Linked DNA regions of Homo sapiens: regions 2 and 3 are each linked to region 1. Evidence: promoter capture Hi-C in 16 types of primary human blood cells and fetal thymus (Javierre and others, 2016). All regions are on one chromosome and are shown on one strand. Each heading gives the region's core, a stretch centred on a gene start or on the middle of the fragment in contact. The rest is flanking DNA. Distances are from core to core; before and after follow the strand shown. Region 1 holds the start of ATP23 (ATP23 metallopeptidase and ATP synthase assembly factor homolog). Region 2 holds the start of BLOC1S1 (biogenesis of lysosomal organelles complex 1 subunit 1). Region 3 holds the start of SARNP (SAP domain containing ribonucleoprotein).

Region 1 (3,216 bases), core at 307-2,806:
AAACCTACACATAAACCACCTGAATCTATGTATTAAAAAAGAAAGCATGAAAAAAATCCAAATAGTATTTCAAATGTATATAGGCTATGGTCCATTTCTAGGCATATCTAGCCTGCCTTCAGTATTCCAAACTAATCACACTGAATTGTAATGGCTTAGTTTTCCATATGTGTGTTTTAGTTCAATAACTGGATTGAAAGCTAGTTGTGTGGTCCTAGATAAATTATTGAATTTTGCTGAGCCCACTTTATCTGCAAATTAGAGATAATACTTACTTTGCAGGGTTGTAGTGAGGATTGGAAATAATGTATCCAAGGTGAATTTAATTAAAAAGTAGTTACTTTTTTTTTGACTTCTGGCTTTAATAGTCTATGTACATAGGAGTTGTTTGTATTTTTATAATATTCCAGATGAATGACTATCCTAGCATCCCACTCAATTTAGATATTGAGCATCTATGACACATAAAGCACTGTTCATAACCCTAAAGGCCTGCTGAGCCTATATTTTTCAGATATGTTTCTTACATAAACCACATGCTGCTCTTCATCTTTAGCAATTTTCTTAGTCATGTGTTTCCTCAGTCTCTTACACCTTGCCTGGCCCATCATAGTAGGTGCTGAATAAATGTGTGAGCTGAGTGGAATAATTTAGTAGGAAAAGAGAAACACACAAATTGGATAAAACCTGGCAGGCTACGATGAAAATGATTAACAGGTACAAAGTGCTTTGTACATTGGGAGATCAGGAGACATTAATTTTGATTAAGGTATCTGGGAATGCCCTGTGGAGTAGGCAGATTTGACCTGGGCCCCAATCATAGGGGCTGAGGCAAGGAGCTTAAAGATGGAAATGACAGTATGAGTTAAGGCTGAGAGGTAGAAGTAAACAGGGTGCGCTTTGTTATCAGGGAGTTATTGGTGGGGGGTGGGGCAGAAGAGTAGGGTAAACGAATGGGTACAGGTGGGAAGAAAAAATGTAGTTGGTTCCTACATTTTGAGGATTTTGATGTGACTAGTCATTCTTTATAGTTTTAAAACGTTTCTGAAAAACACTGCTTTCAATATGGCCAGAGGCATCTTTGGGCAGAGTGGATCTGAGGGATGGCAGGGGTCGGGAAAGTGGCGGGCCAGAAATGACAACTGGCTTGCCCCGGAAGAAGGCAGGGAGTGGGAGGATGGCCGAGACCTTCGGCGGCACAAGAGCAGTTAGTGGCCAATATTCGCCCCGAGGTGAGGAAGGAGTGTCTGCGAGGAGGCGGGACACCCTTAGAGCTCAGCAGGCAGCAGGAAGCTGCAGAACAACGCTTATAAAGACATGTCACCCACACTGGGAGGGCAGCAGCGAAATCCGCGGCAGCCGGGTTGTTACAGCCTTTGAGGGAAGTCGCAAGACCCAGCTCCGCCCAACAGCATCGGGCCCCGCGCCCCGCCCCATGCCCTCGCCCCGCCCCTCATCCCTCGCCCCGCCCCTCGCCTCTCGCCCCGCCCCTCGCCTCTCGCCCCGCCTCCCGCGCTCCCCGTCAGGTTCAAAGCCCCCTCCCGCCTAACGTCTTCAGCCCAGCCAGGCTGCCCTTCTTCCCTGCGGAGGGAGGGCCTGGGCGGTCGCGTTGGCGGGAGGGAGGTTACCTTTCCCAGTCTCGCTCTGGCCGCCTGAGCCAGGAGGAAGCAGCGGCGAGGTCTGCGGGAGGCATGGCGGGAGCTCCGGACGAGCGCCGGCGGGGCCCCGCGGCAGGGGAGCAGCTGCAGCAGCAACACGTCTCTTGCCAGGTCTTCCCCGAGCGTCTGGCCCAGGGGAATCCCCAGCAAGGGTTCTTCTCCAGCTTCTTCACCAGCAACCAGAAGTGCCAGCTTAGGCTCCTGAAGACGCTGGAGACAAGTAGGAGCCATGACCTGGAGGCTGTGGTTCCACAGAATGGGTCTGAGACCGGGTGGGCGAGGAAGGGCCTGGGCAACACCTGGCCAGGGGCTTCAGGTTCAGCACAGAGTCTAGACAGACTGGGCATCATGGGGGCTGGGTTGGGAGCCTGAGGCTCAGTTTCCCCACTAGAGGTGGCGCTGAGACCCTTTTCGTCGCTGTTTTTGGCTTGTGGAATGAATTTGTCTGCCCTTTTTTGTCACTCACTGTTGTGACAGATCCTCCGATTTCTTACATAAGTTATGCAGCCACACTGTGACTTCAGGGTAAGGGTGAGGCCAAGTTTTAAAGTGCCAGCCAGGTTAATTAAGGCACACAAAGGCTGTAAAAATGTAAAAATGTAATTAAGGCATACCAAGGCTGTAAAAATATAAAAGCAGTTTTGCAAACCTACCGTTCCTTGGAAGTGGTTCATGCATGAATGGGCTTCAGAGCGTAGAAATCCCTGAAATGGTCTGTGAAATCGTGTGTATGTGTGTGTGTGTGCCCCTAAGTGCATTTTTTTTTTTTTTTTGAGACGGAGTCTCGCTCTGTCGCCCAGGCTGGGGTGCAGTGGCGCGATCTTTGCTCACTGCAAGCTCCGCCTACTGGGTTCACGCCGTTCTCCTGCCTCAGCCTCCCGAGTAGCTGGGACTACAGGCGCTCGCCACCACACCCTGCTAATTTTTTGTATTTTTAGTAGAGACGGGTTTTCACCGTGTTAGCCAGGATGGTCTTGATCTCCTGACCTCGTGATCTGCCTGCCTCGGCCTCCCAAAGTGCTGGGATTACAGGCGTGAGTCACTGCGCCCGGCCCAAAGTGTATTTTTTTTTGGTCGGGGGAGAGAGTTAATAGCTTCATCATATTCTCAAAGAGGCCAACGACCCCACAAAGGTTAAGAACTGCTGTGGGTTAAACAGGGACACAACTGCCCATTGACAAATTTCTCTCCCGTCCCAGAGACATTGCACTAGAGAAGATTTCTTAATTCCTTTACATTGACATAGACTTCTTAAGTTTACTTTCAGATACATTCAGAAAATTAGTCTTAAACATACTTGTCCCAAAGCAAGGTTACTATTTCATAGCTAGTCAGTCACAGTTCAAAAGTCAACCACCGAAAGATTTTCCAACCTTCTTGGGATTACCTGCTTGTAGAGACTCAGGGAGGTAGGAGGAGGAAGGGGAGTTGAGGGTAAAAGGGGAGAGAATGATGATATTGTATTTACTGTACAAATATGTATTGAGTGCCTCCCAGGTTCTGGTGGGGGAAGTAGAAAGATGAGTTAGCACCCTGCCTTGAAGGTGCTTCAAAGTGG
Region 2 (2,588 bases), core at 1-2,500, 2.2 Mb before region 1:
ACATATATATAGTGATGTTTGGTCTTCACTCCTTAGATTCTATTTAATTAGTCTGGAATCAAGGCTTTTTTTTTTTTTTTTTTGAGACAGAGTCCCACTCTGTCGCCCAGGCTGGAGTTCAGTGGCGTGATCTCGGCTCACTGCAACCTCTGCCTCCCAGGTTCAAGCGATTCTCCTGCCTCAGGCTCCTGAGTAGCTGGGATTACAGGCTTGTGCCACTACGCCTGGCTAAATTTTGTATTTTTAGTAGATACAAGGTTTCACCATGTTGGTCAGCCTGGTCTCGAACTCCTGACCTCGTGATCCGCCCGCCTCGGCCTCCCAAAGTGCTGGGATTACGGGCGTGAGCCACCGCACCCGGCTAATCACGGCATTTTTATAAGCCTTGTGATTTCTGTGATTCTAATGTTTAGATTCTAATGCTTAGCCAGGGTTGAGAACCACCGATTTAATCCAATCCCTTCTCCTAGTTTTACTAAAGAGAAAACTATAACCTAGAATGGTGAGCAACTTGCCCAAAGTCACCCAACATGTTAGTGCAAGGTGCACCGAGAGAGATTGTACCAGTAGCAAGAATATGCTCATGATGTTTATAATTGTTCTCGCTGGAGTTAATCCCGGAAGCATTTCTTTTTAGTTCACAGAGGCCTTATATAAATTACTTTTTACTTTGGCACAGCACTTACGCTTCTGCTAACACTGAAATGGGTTCGCATTCCTGACCACAAAAGGACAGAGATGAAATTCTACATTCACACAGCCCGCCAAGTTAGCCAAGCTCCCTAGGAGGCTGTCTGAAGTGCCTAAAATGCTTCTCTACAATGATCACCCAGAGCTGAGAGACTTCAGTGGGGTAGTGAGAAGAAAGAGGGTTGGGAGAGACAGGAAAGCATCCTCTCCTTGAGGGAAGGAACTGGGAATCAACTGAGAACCAGCTAGCACTGCCAGGAGGTGAGGAGAGGGAAGGAGAATAATTTAAATGAGGCCAGGGAGCTTCTGCTCCCTCAATTAAACGGTGATAGACGGCCTGACACCACCAGCCCTCGAAGCCTGAGATCCACAGGAAATGTTAAAAACTGGCTTGGCAATATAAGTATTAGAAAATACTTCTTCCAACACTCACCAAAAACTAAGCTCCCAATAAAGAACACTTCACCTGCCCTCCGCAACCCTCTACCTCTCTTCCCCGCCAAGATCTTCACCCAAGGTCTCAAGAGGGCGGTTCCCAACCTCACGTGACACAGCGGTCACGTGACATGGCCCCGGGGAGCCGAGGTGAGCGTTCCAGCTTCCGGAGCCGGAGGGGGCCCGGCGTACCCAGCCCCCAGCCCGACGTGACCATGCTGTCCCGCCTCCTAAAAGAACACCAGGCCAAGCAGAATGAACGCAAGGAGCTGCAGGGTGAGCCAAATATCCTGTCGGCCGTTTTCTCTTCGGCCGCGGCCTAGCTTCAGCCCGGAGCCTGGATCTCGAGTAACTAACCATATCCAGGGAAAGACGCCAGCTAGCGGGCAACGGGCATGGGGGAGAGGGAATTTCAGAGAGGCTTTTTTTGAAACTCCTTTCCCTTGCCAACTGGCTCCGGTCCCTTGGGCAATACTCCGGTCCCCTCGGCAACGCCCCCAATCCCCGACCTGCCGCACCTTAGCCCCGCCCCTGCCCCGGAGCGCCCTGCCTATTGGCCCTGGGAGCCTCTCGTCCTGGCGGCGGGAAGGAGCGACTCTGGAGGGAGGAGGGTGTGGGGAACCCCCCAGAGATGGGCTTCTTGGAGGCCTGAAACCACCGGAACGGAGGTGGGGCACTTGTTTCCTGAGTCCGGGCTGGAAATCTCGGAGTTACCGATTCTGCGGCCGAGTAGTGGAGAAAGAGTGCCTGGGAGTCAGGAGTCCTGGGCGCTGCCGCTGACTTCCTGGCGTCCCTGAGTGAGTCCATTTCCCTCCCAGGGTACCAGTTTCCTCATCTCTAAAATGAAAGAGGTTGCGCTATGTTTTGCAAGGTCCTTTTCAGCTCCGGCATTCAGAGATTAGTTAAGAAATTTCGGCAACTAGCAGAATAGTAATGGATGGGTAGGGAACCTTTAACACTACCCCTCAAAAAACCAAGTCTCCCCTCCAATTCCTTTTCCCCCTCTCCCCAGAAAAGAGGAGGCGAGAGGCTATCACTGCAGCGACCTGCCTGACAGAAGCTTTGGTGGATCACCTCAATGTGGGGTATGGACCTCTTATCAACATCAGTTTCCTCCTTCCCCACCCCGCCCAAGTTTAGGCACTGGCCAGTCTGGCCCTCAAATAGCTGTTGAAGGGGTGGGATGTTCCACTAATTCCCCTATCCTACCCCGCCCCTCCCAGCTCTTTGTAGAGCAACTTGAGTCAACTCTGAGTCCTAGCACTGGGCAAGGGAGGAACAGCTGCCGTGGTTAGAGAAGCAGCCAGATTTCCCCTTCCCCACGTTAACTTCCCTGGCATTTACAACTTGATGCCATCTGCCCACCTCCCTTCACCCTTCCAAGTCCAGCTGTCACTTCAGCAGGAGGGAGAGCACCCTCCTTCATTACAGCTTACCACCCTCTCCTCTGCCTCCCACCCTCT
Region 3 (3,216 bases), core at 280-2,779, 2.1 Mb before region 1:
ATTTCAAAAATAGGACAAATAGGAAGAAAATATTAGCTCTTCTATATATAGTTCCTTTTTATCTCATTCAAAAATTCCTTTTCTGTGTTATATTTTATAACAGTCCAGAAGTATACAATTTCTATAAGTACAGTATATATAAACAAAGTGGAGATGATTGCTCAATTTTTTTTAACTCATCACAATAAAGATCAAGAGACCGCTGATATAGTCTATGCATTTCAGTATCATCAAGTTAACAATAACTCCAGAATAACACAAAAACCCACTAACAGAGTTTAGAATCCAAGAGTAAGAAAAACATCAGTTTCACAGAAAGACTAATTGGGGTCAACTAATAAGTGACTAAAGAAGGGTCCTCTCCCTACCCTTACTACCCTTAAGCTTTCTTAACAGCAACAAAAACAAAAAAAAACTTTTCGAGCTTTAAAGGATCACTTTTCAGTTTCAGCTATATCAGCCTGGTTTGTCCAAAACATCTAATGGGAAAACTACTTGTGAAACCACAAACAGACAATTACTCAAGATATCTTAATTTACCCTAAAAGAAAATACTTTTTAAAATGTTCTTCTTTTTAATATATTTTTTTAACTTTTTTATATATCTAAGTGTGAAAAAACTACCAAGAGTCTCATAAGACAATTTAAAATAGCTTCTGTGATTCAGTGTCAGCCAATGGTAACACCAGGAGATGCAGGGCCCACCCGAGATATGAAATGGAACAGAGATAATCTTAACCTTGGAATTGTTTTTCCCAAATATTGCAGGTGTGAGTTCTCTCTGGTGGTTGGAGATGGTGTGTGAGGAAGGCTGGCGGGCCGAGAGCCGCGTGACAGAACTCGAAAACTTTTAAATCTGAGGTGTCTGTACTTCTACTATTCTCAAGACCTCCTCAACCCCAGGCTTCTAAGGCGAGACCGATCTTCTGAGAGGCCTCTCCCTGTTTCAAAATTCGGCTTGGGGCGTAATCCCACCTAGAAAAGGGGAGTGGAAGTATTTTCTGAGTGTCTGGTACCTATTTAGACAGAAATACACAAAAATGCCACCATTTGCTAACAGGGAAATCTCAGCTTCGGACGACAGACTGGAAACATCATCCCAGGGAAGAAAAACGGATCCTGGCTCCGACATGGGGCAAAAAGGAGGGACCAACTGACGTAATGCAGCCCTGAAAAGCAACGAAGAGTATAACAGGTAGAAGGCACTTACACAACCCAGTGGGGAAGGGTGACGGACGATACAATGATGAAGGAAGCAGAAATAACAAATAAATATAGCAGTAAAGCCGTGAGGAGAAATGGGAAATTAGGGAAGGCGTAGTGTGGAAGGGTGGCACAAAAGAGCTACGGCGGGAGCCGAGAAACGAAGTGGAAAAGGCTGCACGGAGAAGACGTAGGAGAAGGCGCAAGCTACCCTGTAGAATTCAGTTCCTAGAAAAGTCCAACTCAGCCCTTCCCCGATTCACGGTACCTTTAGCTTATGGAGCTCCACCGTCTCGGTCGCCATCTTGTTACCCCTCACTCCACTAGGCCCCCACCCGCGGCCTCCGCCTCCAGGAGCTCCCGCCTTAGGCGTAGAGATGCAAGGCTGACCAATCGTTGTCACTCTTGCTCCCACGCCATACCATCAGCTCTTCCCATTGGTCAATAGCTGACGTCGCTCTCACTTCTCTAGGCAGCTTGCCCCACCTCTTTCAAAAGGTGGAACTGGGAGAGGGGCGGGCACTGTATCTTGCGAACGACAGAAATGGCAACCAACTGTGCTTCTGCATTACAGACCACCAACCAATGGGTGGTGGCAGCGCTGATTCTGTTCCTCCAATAGGAAAGGGGCAGAAGGAGAGGCGTTACTTCCTGGAGACTTCAGGTGTGGTAGCCGGCGCCGCGCCCATAGCCGGACGGGGATCTGAGCTGGCAGGTAGGAGCTGCAAAGACTGTAAGGGTTGCTGAGGAAAAATGGTGGGAGGCGAAAGGGGCGCCGAGGGAGTGGTGACCTAAATACTGAGAGGGGAGCGCTGAAGGGAGCCCTGAAAAAACCGATGAACATGAGGAGGAAGCTGGGAGGGGCATGGGGCGGGCTTAAGGAACTGGCGGTGGGGCTGGGGCGGGCAAGAGCCGCTTCCTAACCAGACATCATCAGCTTTAGAGCTACCACAATTTTAAAGATCCGAGTTCAGATAATCACTGCTGCCCCTGGAGTCAGAGCCAAGGCTCCACCTTTCGAGGTATTGAGCTCAGGTCCCTTCCTAACCCAGTCCAGAAGCCGTGGGCAAGTTGTTGTCGTGCCCCACGCTTGAGAGAAGTAATGGGGATGCAGACTGTTTACATGCCACGGAGGTGAGAGAGAGGGTGGACAAGCCCCAGAGAACAAAGTGGGGACCAGAGTGAGCTTTACTCTGTCATCCCTTCTTAGTGGTTCTTTGATGATTCCATGACTTTCGCCTGGAATTCTGGGTGTACGTGACCTCTTCATGGTTATTAACTTCTTCAGCAAAGTCAGATACTCCTATTTCCCTTGCTCCCTGAAGTGAGTGCCCCAAGCCTACACATACACCTTCATGTTACAGTTGACGTGTAAAGATCAGAGCAATAATGACTATGTCTCTGAAATGTAGTGAGGACTCTTCTTGTCTTTTAAAGTTTTCCCCAAGTCTTCAGTTTTTATTTTCTGCGTGATGGGTAAGTTCTTCATTCCCAATAGAGTTCAGGGGATTGGGGCTATCTGAGAGACAACTGGGAGATAGCTCAAGAGGGGTTGAGAAAAAACTGAGCTGGACTCCTGCCTGATCCCCCATTACGGCTAGGATGAATGTGGGGGTGGCACACAGCGAAGTAAACCCCAACACCCGAGTGATGAATAGCCGAGGCATCTGGCTGGCCTACATCATCTTGGTAGGATTGCTGCATATGGTTCTACTCAGCATCCCCTTCTTCAGCATTCCTGTTGTCTGGACCCTGACCAACGTCATCCATAACCTGGTGAGCACTAAACCACGCCCTTGTACCCACCCCAGGGTTTCCCAACCAAAAGCAAAATAAAATCACCAATTGTTTGGGGATTTATGTGTTCCTTTTGGGATCTTAACATAATTCTTTGACTGAAAAACTACTTTCTGCCCCTCACACTGCCACCTTCCCTGTTCCCAGGCTACGTATGTCTTCCTTCATACGGTGAAAGGGACACCCTTTGAGACTCCTGACCAAGGAAAGGCTCGG

Evidence for each region. Contacts are between HindIII fragments. The CHiCAGO score rates a contact against its expected background, and 5 or more counts as called.
Region 2: the fragment with the promoter of BLOC1S1 here is called in contact with the fragment with the promoter of ATP23 in region 1 in 3 of 17 cell types (non-activated CD4 T cells, monocytes and neutrophils); the score reaches 7.6 in non-activated CD4 T cells.
Region 3: the fragment with the promoter of SARNP here is called in contact with the fragment with the promoter of ATP23 in region 1 in 1 of 17 cell types (neutrophils); the score reaches 5.9 in neutrophils.

The regions. Positions count from the first base shown.
Region 1 is chr12:57,940,011-57,943,226 of GRCh38, forward strand. It overlaps ATP23 (ATP23 metallopeptidase and ATP synthase assembly factor homolog), which reads left to right and starts at 1,557. Exons shown (of 6, transcript NM_033276.4): 1 at 1,557-1,878. The coding sequence starts at 1,692. RefSeq lists enhancers at 1,426-2,235, 2,692-2,861. The HindIII fragment of the contact is 6,393 bases long and covers 1-3,216 here.
Region 2 is chr12:55,714,796-55,717,383 of GRCh38, forward strand. BLOC1S1 (biogenesis of lysosomal organelles complex 1 subunit 1) reads left to right here and starts at 1,251. Exons shown (of 4, transcript NM_001487.4): 1 at 1,251-1,401; 2 at 2,138-2,210. The coding sequence starts at 1,257. BLOC1S1-RDH5 (BLOC1S1-RDH5 readthrough) reads left to right here and starts at 1,239. Exons shown (of 6, transcript NR_037658.1): 1 at 1,239-1,401; 2 at 2,138-2,210. It also overlaps a transcript of ITGA7 not described here. RefSeq lists enhancers at 1,296-1,435, 1,716-1,955. The HindIII fragment of the contact is 4,864 bases long and covers 1-2,183 here.
Region 3 is chr12:55,816,195-55,819,410 of GRCh38, forward strand. SARNP (SAP domain containing ribonucleoprotein) reads right to left here and starts at 1,530. Exons shown (of 11, transcript NM_033082.4): 1 at 1,472-1,530. The coding sequence starts at 1,507. ORMDL2 (ORMDL sphingolipid biosynthesis regulator 2) reads left to right here and starts at 1,847. Exons shown (of 4, transcript NM_014182.5): 1 at 1,847-1,918; 2 at 2,805-2,979; 3 at 3,148-3,216. The coding sequence starts at 2,806. The HindIII fragment of the contact is 4,326 bases long and covers 383-3,216 here.